Linked DNA regions of Homo sapiens: all the other regions are linked to region 3. Evidence: promoter capture Hi-C in 16 types of primary human blood cells and fetal thymus (Javierre and others, 2016). All regions are on one chromosome and are shown on one strand. Each heading gives the region's core, a stretch centred on a gene start or on the middle of the fragment in contact. The rest is flanking DNA. Distances are from core to core; before and after follow the strand shown.

Evidence for each region. Contacts are between HindIII fragments. The CHiCAGO score rates a contact against its expected background, and 5 or more counts as called.
Region 1: a contact is called between a fragment that was not itself captured here and the fragment with the promoter of ZNF296 in region 3, in 1 of 17 cell types (endothelial precursors). The highest score is 5.2, in endothelial precursors.
Region 2: a fragment that was not itself captured here is called in contact with the fragment with the promoter of ZNF296 in region 3 in 1 of 17 cell types (naive B cells); the score reaches 5.3 in naive B cells.

Annotation. Positions count from the first base shown.
Region 1 is chr19:45,345,398-45,349,255 of GRCh38, forward strand. KLC3 (kinesin light chain 3) reads left to right here. Exons shown (of 13, transcript NM_177417.3): 2 at 137-402; 3 at 1,147-1,377; 4 at 2,050-2,119; 5 at 2,544-2,763; 6 at 3,249-3,336; 7 at 3,423-3,524. The coding sequence starts at 145. Among named protein-coding and RNA genes, the nearest start is that of KLC3, 6.6 kb to the left of the region's middle. RefSeq lists a silencer at 1,134-1,428. The HindIII fragment of the contact is 3,588 bases long and covers 1-3,044 here.
Region 2 is chr19:44,655,067-44,658,566 of GRCh38, forward strand. It overlaps PVR (PVR cell adhesion molecule), which reads left to right. Exons shown (of 8, transcript NM_006505.5): 5 at 2,696-2,844. Among named protein-coding and RNA genes, the nearest start is that of MIR4531, 3.1 kb to the left of the region's middle. RefSeq lists a silencer at 1,472-1,672. The HindIII fragment of the contact is 5,268 bases long and covers 1-3,500 here.
Region 3 is chr19:45,074,875-45,078,541 of GRCh38, forward strand. ZNF296 (zinc finger protein 296) reads right to left here and starts at 1,604. Exons shown (of 3, transcript NM_145288.3): 1 at 1,202-1,604; 2 at 839-988. The coding sequence starts at 1,499. It also overlaps a transcript of GEMIN7 not described here. RefSeq lists silencers at 421-730, 1,061-1,300, 1,391-1,800. The HindIII fragment of the contact is 16,244 bases long and covers 1-3,667 here.

The DNA.
Region 1 (3,858 bases), core at 1-2,500, 270 kb after region 3:
CCAGGATGGGTGGAGCAGGGAAGAGCCAGGATGGGGAGAAGTTAGGGGTCCTGATGGCCATTATGGGAATAGAGGCTGGGGGCCAACTGACTGGCCCGGGCAATGATTCCCCAAACCCCTCACCATTGCTCCCCAGGAGCAGCAATGTCTGTGCAGGTAGCGGCTCCTGGAAGTGCAGGGCTGGGCCCAGAGCGCCTGAGCCCTGAGGAGCTGGTGCGGCAGACGCGGCAAGTGGTCCAGGGGCTGGAGGCGCTGCGGGCAGAGCACCATGGCCTGGCTGGGCACCTGGCGGAGGCCCTGGCGGGACAGGGCCCGGCAGCCGGCTTGGAGATGCTGGAGGAAAAGCAGCAGGTGGTGAGCCACTCGCTGGAGGCCATCGAGCTGGGGCTGGGCGAGGCCCAGGTATGAGGGGGCCAGGTGGGGAGCTGGGGGAAGGTCAGCTGAGGGCGGAGGGAGGGCCAGGCATGAGGGGGACAGGTATGTAGGGGACTGGGAGAGGGTTCACTATTGCAGAGGGGCACACTTTGGGAGGCTGAGGTGGGCAGATCACTTGAGGTCAGGAGTTCAAGACCAGCCTGGCCAACATGGGAAAACCCCATCTCTACTAAAAATACAAAAAGTAGCTGGGCATGAGGGCTCCTGTAATCCCGGCTACTCAGGAGGCTGAGGCATGAGAATCGCTTGAACCTGGGAGGCGGAGGTTGCAGTGAGTGGAGATCGTGCCATTCCACTCCAGTCTGGGTGACAGAGAGAGACTGTCCCAAAAAACAACAGAAAAAAGTATGGCAGAGAGGCACATCCGGGGCAGGGGGAGGCCTAGGGGAACCAGGCCTGGGAAGGGGAGGCTCCAGGTCAGAGATGGAGTCCCTTGGCAGCTTTAGGGGGTCCTTGTGTGTGACAGGGACCCCTGAACCAGATGGCATTCTTCAGTAAACTGTGGGTCCTAGGGCAAGTTTGGGGGTAAAATCAGAGGGGCCCCTGGGAGCCTCTGAGGGCACTGGGGCCATGTTGGCAGAGTCTCTGCAGAATCTGGGGGTGTCGTGCATAGTAGTGGGGTGCTACGGCCTGACTCGAGGCCTGGGCTGGGTCAGGGGCCGTCTGGCAGGGCAGGAACCAACCTCGACTTGGGACCCCCACCCCGGGCAGGTGCTGCTGGCCCTGTCGGCACATGTGGGTGCACTGGAGGCAGAGAAGCAGCGGCTGCGCTCGCAGGCCCGGCGGCTGGCCCAGGAGAACGTGTGGCTGCGGGAGGAACTGGAGGAGACGCAGCGGCGGCTTCGGGCCAGCGAGGAGTCCGTGGCCCAGCTGGAGGAGGAGAAGCGCCACCTGGAGTTCCTGGGGCAGCTGCGACAGTACGACCCACCGGCGGAGAGCCAGGTGCCACGGGCAGGGCGAGGCGGGGGGTGCTGGGCCCTTCATAGAGCCCCACAGTCCCCCAGACCCTCCTTAGAATCCCACAGTCCCCAAGATCCTCCTTAGAATCCCACAGTCCCCCAGACCCTCCTTAGAATGCCACAGTCCCCCAACCCTCCACAGAGCCCCCAGACCCACCAGAACTTCCACAGACGCCCCCACTAGCTACTCCACGAAGCCCCCGAGCCTCGCCAGACCCCCAGGGGGCCTCTGACGCTCGTGACCACCACCTCCCTCAAACCTTGAGATAGGCTGGGTGCGGTGGCTCACGCCTGTAATCCCAACACTTTGGGAGGCCGAGGCGAGCAGATCACCTGAGGTCCGGATTTCAAGACCAGCATGACCAACATGGAGAAACCCCGTCTCTACTAAAAATACAAAATTAGCCGGGTGTGGTGGCACATGCCTGTAATCCCAGCTACTCCGGAAGCTGAGGCAGGAGAATGGCTTGAACCCAGGAGGTGGAGGTTGCTGTGAGCCAAGATCGCACCATTGCACTCCAGCCTGTGCAACAAGCGAAACTCCGTCTCAAAAAAAAAAAAAAAACAAAAAAACAAAAACCTGAGATAGAGCCAGGGCCCCGGTCTCTGAAACAAGCCCCCACCACCCCGGCCCCCCACTTTCCTGTCTCTGCAGCAGTCTGAGTCCCCGCCTCGCCGAGACAGCCTGGCCTCCCTGTTCCCCAGCGAGGAGGAGGAGAGGAAAGGTGGGTGTTGGGAGTACATGCCACAGAGGATGGCAGGCCAGGGTGGGGAGGGGGCTCTGAGCTGCAGGACCCCAAAATCTCTGAGCCAGGGGATGGGGAGGTGAGGGCAGGGTGAGGAGGACCCTGAATGTGACAGTGCAGGTGAGGCTGGGAGCCACAAAGACAGGGTAGCCGCTATGAGCCTGGCAGGCCCCGTATTCACATCCCACAGGGCAGGTGGGCTGCCGTGTTCCTGTCCCGAGGCCAGGATGCATCCCACCAGCTGGTTAGATGCTAGTGACTCCTATCTCAGAAGTTAGCGTGGGGGCCCATAGTCCCAGGGGCCAGTTAGGCAGTCCGGCAGTTCTGAGGCACGTGTCCCCTCATGCGAGGCTGGAGGGGCAGGAGGCTTGCAGTGACCCAGAGCCCACCCCACCCCACCTAGGTCCTGAGGCCGCAGGAGCAGCAGCTGCTCAGCAGGGTGGCTATGAGATCCCTGCCCGCCTTCGGACCCTGCATAACCTCGTGATCCAGTACGCGGGGCAGGGCCGCTATGAGGTGGCGGTGCCTCTGTGCCGCCAGGCCTTGGAGGACCTGGAGCGCAGCTCGGGCCACTGCCACCCTGACGTGGCCACCATGCTCAACATCCTGGCGCTGGTGTACCGGTGAGCACTGCGGCCAGCCATGGCTGGGGGCAGGAACGGCAGGGACCCATTGGGTGCAAGTGGAAGGATCCTGGTGCCCCCTCTGTCACCATGGAGCACCTAGGGAGGTCAGGGGAGGGGACAGCAAGAATGGGAAAGGAAGGGAAGGCTCCTGCTGTGAGAACGGCAAAGAGGGAGTGGGACAGGGATCTGGGGGGGCCACTGAGCCAGGCAGAGAGGAGTCAGAGAGCACGGACACCAGGGACCCCAACAGAGCAGGCAGGAGACCTGGGGTGGCTAGAAGCTTGGCAGAGGTCTGGGGGTACAGGGCCCAGTGTTAGAGAATTGCGAAATATGGAGGGGCCCACAAAAGGCCCTCAAAGGGTGTGCCACCCATGCTTGGTTCAGCCAGGTTCCCTGGGCCTGTCAGGATTGGCCCAGCCCCTGTGGCTGCAGCTGCCCCAACCCTTGGCTAACCCCCTCCATTCCTGGGGCGCCCCCCACAGGGACCAGAACAAGTACAAAGAAGCCACAGACCTTCTCCATGATGCCCTGCAGATCCGGGAGCAGACGCTGGGCCCTGAGCACCCCGCGGTGAGTGGGGCCCCAGGGAGACGAAGTGGGGTCAAAGTGGGGCCACACCTGCCCATCCCTGACCTGTGCCTCCCCCAACCCCGCAGGTGGCCGCCACGCTCAACAACTTGGCTGTCCTCTATGGGAAGCGTGGGCGTTACCGGGAGGCAGAGCCCCTGTGCCAGCGCGCTTTGGAGATCCGAGAGAAGGTCCCATCCCCCTCACCCCACCCCGAGGAACCCCTTGTCCCATGTAGCCCTCCCCAGGGATGCTGAGCACGTACATCGTGACCCTGACCCTCGGGCCCCTTGCGTTTGGTATTGGGAGACCCCAGTTGGAGCCTAGATCACCCAACCCATCACCCTTGACCTTCTGAGATCCCAGTTTGGTCTTGACCCTGACTGACCTCTCGCCTTACCTCACACATCACCCTCCAACTGGGTCCCCCCATAGCCTTTCCAACCCCTCATGGCCACCAGCACAAGCCCAACCCTGACCTACCCATCTCACCCTGTGCCCCACGTTTCTGGACCACCATGACCT
Region 2 (3,500 bases), core at 996-3,495, 420 kb before region 3:
CATAAATTACATAATTTTACTGAACCGCCCTTTTTTTTTAAAGAAGGGGCTCTGTTGCCGAGGCTGGAGTGCAGTGGCGTGATCATAGCTCACTGCAGCCTGGACCTCCCTGGGCTCAGGTGATCCTCCCACCTCAGCCTCCTGAGTAGCTGGGACTACAGGCACACGCCACCACACTCAGCTAATTTTGTTGTATTTTTTTTGCAGAGACAGGGTTTTGCCACATTGCCCAGGCTGGTCTGCAACTCCTGGGCTCAAGCAATCAACCCACCTCAGCCTCCTAAAGTGCTGGGATTACAGGCGTGAGCCACCTCGCCCAGCCTTAGGTCTTTTTCCTTATTACAAAAATAACTTGTGTCCACTGTAGAAATATCAAACAATTTAGTTATGAGCAAAAAGAAGAAAGTAGTGCCTATAGTTCAAGTGTACCCAGCCACCTCCAGAAATACCCAGTGACCCCTTATTATACATCCTGTCTTTTTTCTCTCTGTTTCTAAACAAAGACTGGAATTATGCTGTACATATAATTTTGAACCTTTTCGTCTGTCTTGTGAATACCTTTCCATGTCAAAGCACATAGATCCACAACTCCATTTTCCCCCACGTTGTATTAGGAAGACTGTCAAACATACAGAAAAATCATAGGAATTTTCCAGTGAACACTTAAGATTCCACCACGTGGATTCCCCTGCTAACATTTTACTGTGCTTGCTTTATCACGTTTCTGTGATTCCTTCAGTCCCTCTATTCATCCATCAATCATATTATGCATTTCAGAGCACCCCCAGCTCTCCTGCTTTTTTTTTTTTTTTTTTTTTTTTGAGGCAGGGCCTCACTCTGTTGCTCAGGCTGTAGTGCCGTGGCACAATCACAGCTCACTGCAGCCTTGAATTCCTGGGCTCAAGCGATCCTCCAGCTTCAGCCTCCCAGATAGCTGGGACTACAGGCACACACCACCACGCCTGGCTAACCTGGCCCCTTTTTTAGTGTTGCTGGGATTCCACCACTTTAAAAAAAAAATTCAAAGAATAGAGACAGGATCTCACTATGTTGCCCAGGCTGGTCTTGAACTCCTGTACTCAAGCAGTCATCTCACCTGGGCCTCCCAAAGGGCAGGGAAGGGATTCCAACATATGTGGATGTCATCAGTTATTTAACCAGTCCCTAGTAGAGGACACAGATGTCATTTTCCATTTTCAACTCTGCAAATGCCATGGTGGTGTCCATCCCCACTGGTCACTTGTCAGCAGTTGTCCGTGGAAGGAATTGCCGGTCAAAGGTTTTCAACTGGTGTGATGGTGCCTTTACTGTCCTGCCTCAAAGCACCGCAATTCAGGCTCTTGAGCCAGATAGCTGCGTTTGCATCCCAGCTCTGCGGAGCACCCAAAGCCTGATGCTTCCATCTCCTCCACCTCTGTTCATTAAACCAGTGTTCCTTGACTACTTACTGTGTGCCGGGTGCAATTAACCAACATACGTTGGTCGATAAAACAGACCAAATTTCCTCCCCATATAGAGCTTCCATTCTAGTGGTGAAAGAAACAAGAAGCAAGATAAAGTGTGTAGTGTGTGTGCAATGGTGATAAATACCATGGAGAAGACAAAGCAGAGAAGGGAATGGGACTGGGCGCCATGACTCATACCTGTAATCCCAGCACTTTGGGAGGCAGAGATGGGAGGATCACTTGAGGCTAGGAGTTCAAGACCAGCCTGGCCAACATGGCGAAACCCCATCTCTACCAAAAAAGATACAAAAATTGGCCGGGTGTGGTGGCATGCACCTGTAGTCCCAGCTACTCAGGAGGCTGAGGTGGGAAGATTCCATGCACCCAGGAGGTGGAGGTTGCAGTGAGTCAAGATGGTGCCACTGCACTCCAGCCTGGGTGACAGAGTGAGACGCTGTCTCAAAAAAATAATAATTAAATAAATTAAAGAGAAGGGGATGGGAAGGGTGATCATCACAGTTGAAATAGGGTGGCCAAGTGAGGTGTTACTAAGGTGACATCCCAGCAGAGGCCTGAAGGAGATGAGGGTGAGCTCTGCGGGTGCCTAGGGGGAAAGCATTCCAGCAGAGGGAACAGCATGGGCAAACCCATTTCTATCCATCAGTCCCTGCATAAGCAAACACCCTGGACACCTAACTGGAGAGTTTGAGGACCAACAAAGAGGCCACTGTGGATGCAGAGGCGGGAGCAAAGGGGAGAGTAATGGAAAACGTGGGCAGAGGTAGCAGGGGCCAGATCACGTGGGGCCTGTGACACCAGAAGACTTCGGTTTAACTCTGAGCCAGGCTAGGCCCCCAGAGGGTACTGAGCTGAGGTATGGGAACTGACTTAGGGTTCACAGGCGACCTCTGGTGGCCATGTGGGGAACAGACGAGGGGGCGAGGGCAGAAACGGAGCCCAGCGTGGAGGCGGCTGCTGGGGGCCGGGATGCACAGCGCCAGAGCAGGGAGGTACCGTGGAAGCCCTGAGGAGAGGTGGGATTCTGGATGGATCTTAAGGCGGGGCCGACATGATTGGCTAATGGGTTGGGTGTGGGCATGAGAGGAAGGGAAGAGTTGGGGGGCCTCCAGAGTTGCTCTCCGCTTATGCTATAGAGGGCGTGAGGGTTTCTGGGCACGTAGTGCGTGCTCAATCACTGTCACTCCGGACCTGCAGCAGAGGCCACCTCCTCACCTTTCTGTCTCTCCCAGGACCATGGGTCCCCTGCCACCCTTTGCTGTGGCCCAGGGCGCCCAGCTCCTGATCCGTCCTGTGGACAAACCAATCAACACAACTTTAATCTGCAACGTCACCAATGCCCTAGGAGCTCGCCAGGCAGAACTGACCGTCCAGGTCAAAGGTGAGGAACTCCCTGGGTGGGAAGAACAGGGACCAAAGGAAGAGGTCGAGGCAGGGTTCCCTGTCTAATGCTCTCTGGCTCCCATCCTTCTCCTAAGCCTTCTCACAAAAGGACCAGTGGGGCCAGCTTTACTCCCCTGTTAACTCCATACCTATATCACTGGTACCGTTGTTCAGCTGCCTGGATACACTCCCTCCACACACACAGGTTGGGATAGATGTGGAATCCCTCTCTCTCAGGGACTCAGGCCTTTCCAAATATATTAGGCAGACCTCTATCAATTGCAATTGACAGAAACACAAAGTAGTCTAAGCAAAAAAAACCAAACAAAACAGGACTTTATTGAAAATTCACCTTCAGGTATGGTTAGATCCAGGGGCTCCAACCTTGTAACCCAGGAACTTTTATTTTATACATCTCTTGTCTCTGCTTTTCGTTATACTGGCTTTATTCTCAGGCAGGCTCTGAAGCAAGATGGCCCTCGGCAGGGACAGGCTCACATTCTACCAGAATGGCAACAGCAGGAGAAAAAACATACCACTTTCAGTAACTGTAGCCATAGTCCCAGGGCTGGCTCTCATTGGCCCAGCTTAGGCCACAGCCCACCTATGAACCAATCATAGCAGCCAGGGAGAATGGAATATTCTGATTGGCCA
Region 3 (3,667 bases), core at 354-2,853:
TCCTCCAGGCCACTCTCCATGCTCCAGCTCTAAAGCTGATTCAATCAGTCACAAGCCCCTCCTCTTTCCCACCACCAGACCCTCCCTGGCCCAACCCTAAATAATTCCACTTCTCAAAAGTCTCAGAAGGGCAAGGGCCAGGGGGCTGGAAACTAGGTTTGGATTAAGCCCTGCAGCCAACACTGACCAAAAGCTCACCGAGGGTCAAGCCCCATGTGAAGGCTTTTAATTCCCTCCCAAGAGAAGGAACCCGGGTGTCCAGCACCCGGGAGCTCGCTCAAACCAGGGGATTCCCAGCACGCGGGGCTGGGAGATTCCATCACCGAGGGAAGCCAGAAGCCCCTTCCTTGGCTCTGAACACTCAGCTGTACTAGCACCTCAATCAGAATTGACAGAGAGAGACAGGAGGGGGTGGCAACCTCCCCATTCCAGCTGGCCTCCACTCCCCCTCCCCCCGGCCGCTGCCCTCCCTAGAGGTCCCCTCCTACTGCCACCCTGGTCCAGCCACCTGGCCAGTTATTTCTGGCCAAGGGGAAGGAGAAGTGAAACCAGGTTGGGGTGTGTGTTGGGGGGGGCAAAATCCCGGGCTAGTCTTCTGGGGCTGGCCACACCCTGTAGGCGGCCCTCCTTCCCTGCCCAGTCCCCCCCCGCCCCCCCTCCACCGCCACCACTGGTCCCTGCCCTAGGACGGGCAGGCCCTGGCCACGCCTAGGCTGCACCCGATGGGGAGCGAGAAAGGGGAAGTAGTGCTCAGTGCCCTGCCGTCCAGCCCAGCCCCTTTCCAGCAGGAAGCCCAGCCCTCGAACTTGAGAGGGGGACTGCACCCGGCTTTACTCACCTGAGCCCTGGCCGCGGCTGGGGCCTCTGAAGAGCTGACAGCCCAGCTTCTTGTGGTCCATGAAGGCAGTGATGGCCTCCAACGGGAAGGTCTGCAGGCAGCGGCCGCAGGTCAACAGATCTGGGTGTTTGTCGGTCCAGGGCTGGCGGTCTGCAGGGAGGAAGCGGGTGGTGAGCGTGGGGTGGGGCCAGGATGGGGGCTGAGGGTGCTGAAGGAGAGGGGAAACCGAAGGTCAGAAGGGGGCCTGAGGGGCAGGACGGGGCGAAGGAGATAAGGCAGGGCGAGGGGCCCATGCCCAAAGGGAAGGGTCCCACCCGAGGGTCAAAGGTAAGGGAGGCTGGGCCCAGGGCCCGGGGTGCTCACCGGGATAGTTCGGGGTCAACGGCGTCCACAGGGTCCACGGGTTCCGCGGGCCGAGGGCGAGGAGGGCGGCCCCGGCGGGCATGGGGCCAGGGGAGTGGTGGGGTTCGCCGCCGAACCGCCCCGCCGAGGACACCTCCTTCGGGGAGAAGGGCCCCAGCCTTGGGGCCTGTTGGGGCTGCGCGTCTGGCTCGGGCTTGAGTTCGATGACGAGGTCCTGCATTTCCATCTCGTCGTCTGGGTTGGCGGCGGGCGCGGGCTCTACTCGGCGGGGCGCGCTGCCGGCCTTGCGGCGGGACATGAGTCGCGGGCCGGGCGAGCGAGCGGGCGGGCAGGCAGGCAGGCGGGCGGGCGGAGGACGCACGAGCGGAGGACGCGCGGACCGTGCGCGCTCAGGTGAGTGACTGCGGCGACCCGCCGCGAACTCTTACACGTGCTGGCCGGGCCCGTGGCTCCGCCTACCAGGGCGGGGCTCATGGGAGGGGACCGAGCCGCCCTGCTGGGGCCCTGACGGCGGCCTAACTCAATCTAGGCAGTGTCCCGTGCGTTTGGCTTAGTGACCAAATTTAATCACACCGAGTTCCCACAAGGCATTGAAACAGCTATCCCTGATCCCGTTTTAGGGCGGGTGAAACTGAGACACGGCATGCCCACACGCACCCCCAAGCGAGAAAAATAGTCGGTCACGTTTCTTATTAGGTGCCTGATAGTAATCTGGGCTATTTCATTAAATGCATTACAATAAAAATTCATTTTGCAAGCATTCACTGAGTGCCTCCTGTGCGCCAGGCTCTGTTTGAAGCCCTGAGAATACAGGAGGGAATAAACAGAAGATAATCTTTGTTTGCACGGAGTTCAGACGGTGGGGGAAGACACTATAAACATAATTACGTAAAATATAGATGGCCCTTCATGATGACCAGTGCCATGGAGCAAAAGAAAGCTGGAAAGGCGGAGAGGGTTACTGGGGTTGAGGGATTCAATTTTCTCCCCTATGATGGGAAAGGGCATGGTGGAGCTGAGGCTGGAGGGAAGGAAGCCCAGCCAGTGGGCCTGGGCATTGAGGAATTACAAGGAAAGGGAGAGGCAATACGGGTTGGGGATTGAGTTCAGTGAAAATATGGGGGCAGATCCAAGCAATCTTTTGATCGCTTTAAGGTCTTTTGGTTTTCCTGAGACCGGAGCCTTAGGAGGGTTTTGAGCAGAGGAGGACTGTAATCATACACATCGACTCTGTTCCTAGACCAGAAGTCGCCATTAAAACCAAATAGCCAAGCAGCTCACCTGCCTCCACTCCGCCTCCTTGAACTTCCCTCCCCTAAGCAGTTCTGTCTGCTCACTGTTTGAAGTGGCATCGACACCCTGCCCCACCCTCAATCCCTGATGAGTATTCTTTTCTTCCTGGCACCGACTGCACGACAGTATAGAACGGCTTGTGGACTGTCCTCTCCCCCACCCAATGCAAGCCCCCTGAGGTCAGGGCAAGAACCTGTCCTCCCCCAGCTGTCCTCAGCCCAGATGCTGATTTCAGATGCTGATCTCTTGGAGTTCTGCACATTGTTATTCAGGTCTGGGTTCCATTGTCCTCCTGAGAGCAGAGGGCCCTGACCAACAGTATCTAAAGTAGCCCCACCCTGCTGAAGGCCTTGCAAATTACACTCCATGACCTCCATCTGTCCCCAGTTCCCTCTTGGATCTCACTTTCTCCATCTGTCAAAGGAGGTAGGGCAGGTTGGAACTAGAGGGTTATCTGAGGTGGTTTCTTCTTCACTGCCGCCTCCTCTGATCACCCTTTTTTTTTTTGTAATTTTTAATTTTTCAAAAAAAATTATTTTTAAATAGAGACAGGGACTCGCTTTGTTGCCCTGGTTGGTCTGAAACTCTTGGCTTGAAGCGCTCCTCCTGCTTCAGCATCCCAAAGTGCTGAGATTACAGGTGTGAGACACTGCACTCAGCCTCAGACCACCCAATTTTAAGTTCCATGGCAACCCAGCCACCCACTATCCCATTGCCCTTATTTTACTCTTTTTTTTTTTTTTTTTTTTTGAGATGGAGTTTCACTCTTGTTGCCCAGGCTGGAGTGCAGTGGCACGACCTCAGCTCACTGCAACCTCCGCCTCCCGGGTTCAAGTGATTCTCCTGCCTGAGCCTCCGGAGTAGCTGGGATTACAGATGCCCGGCTAATTTTTCTATTTTTAGTAGAGACAGGGTTTCACCATGTTGGCCAGGCTGGTCTCGAACTCCTGACCTCAGGTGATCCACCCGCCTCAGCCTCCCAAAGTGCTGGAATTACAGGCGTGAGCCACCGTGCCCGGCCTATTTTATTCTTTATACATCACTTTGATCAAACCCTGAAGGATCTTGTTTACATATTTGCTCATTTTACCCTATTCTGTCCCTTCTACCCCCACTAGAACGTAGGTTCTAGGAGGCAGGATGGGAGTCTGTCTTGTTCATAAATACAACCCC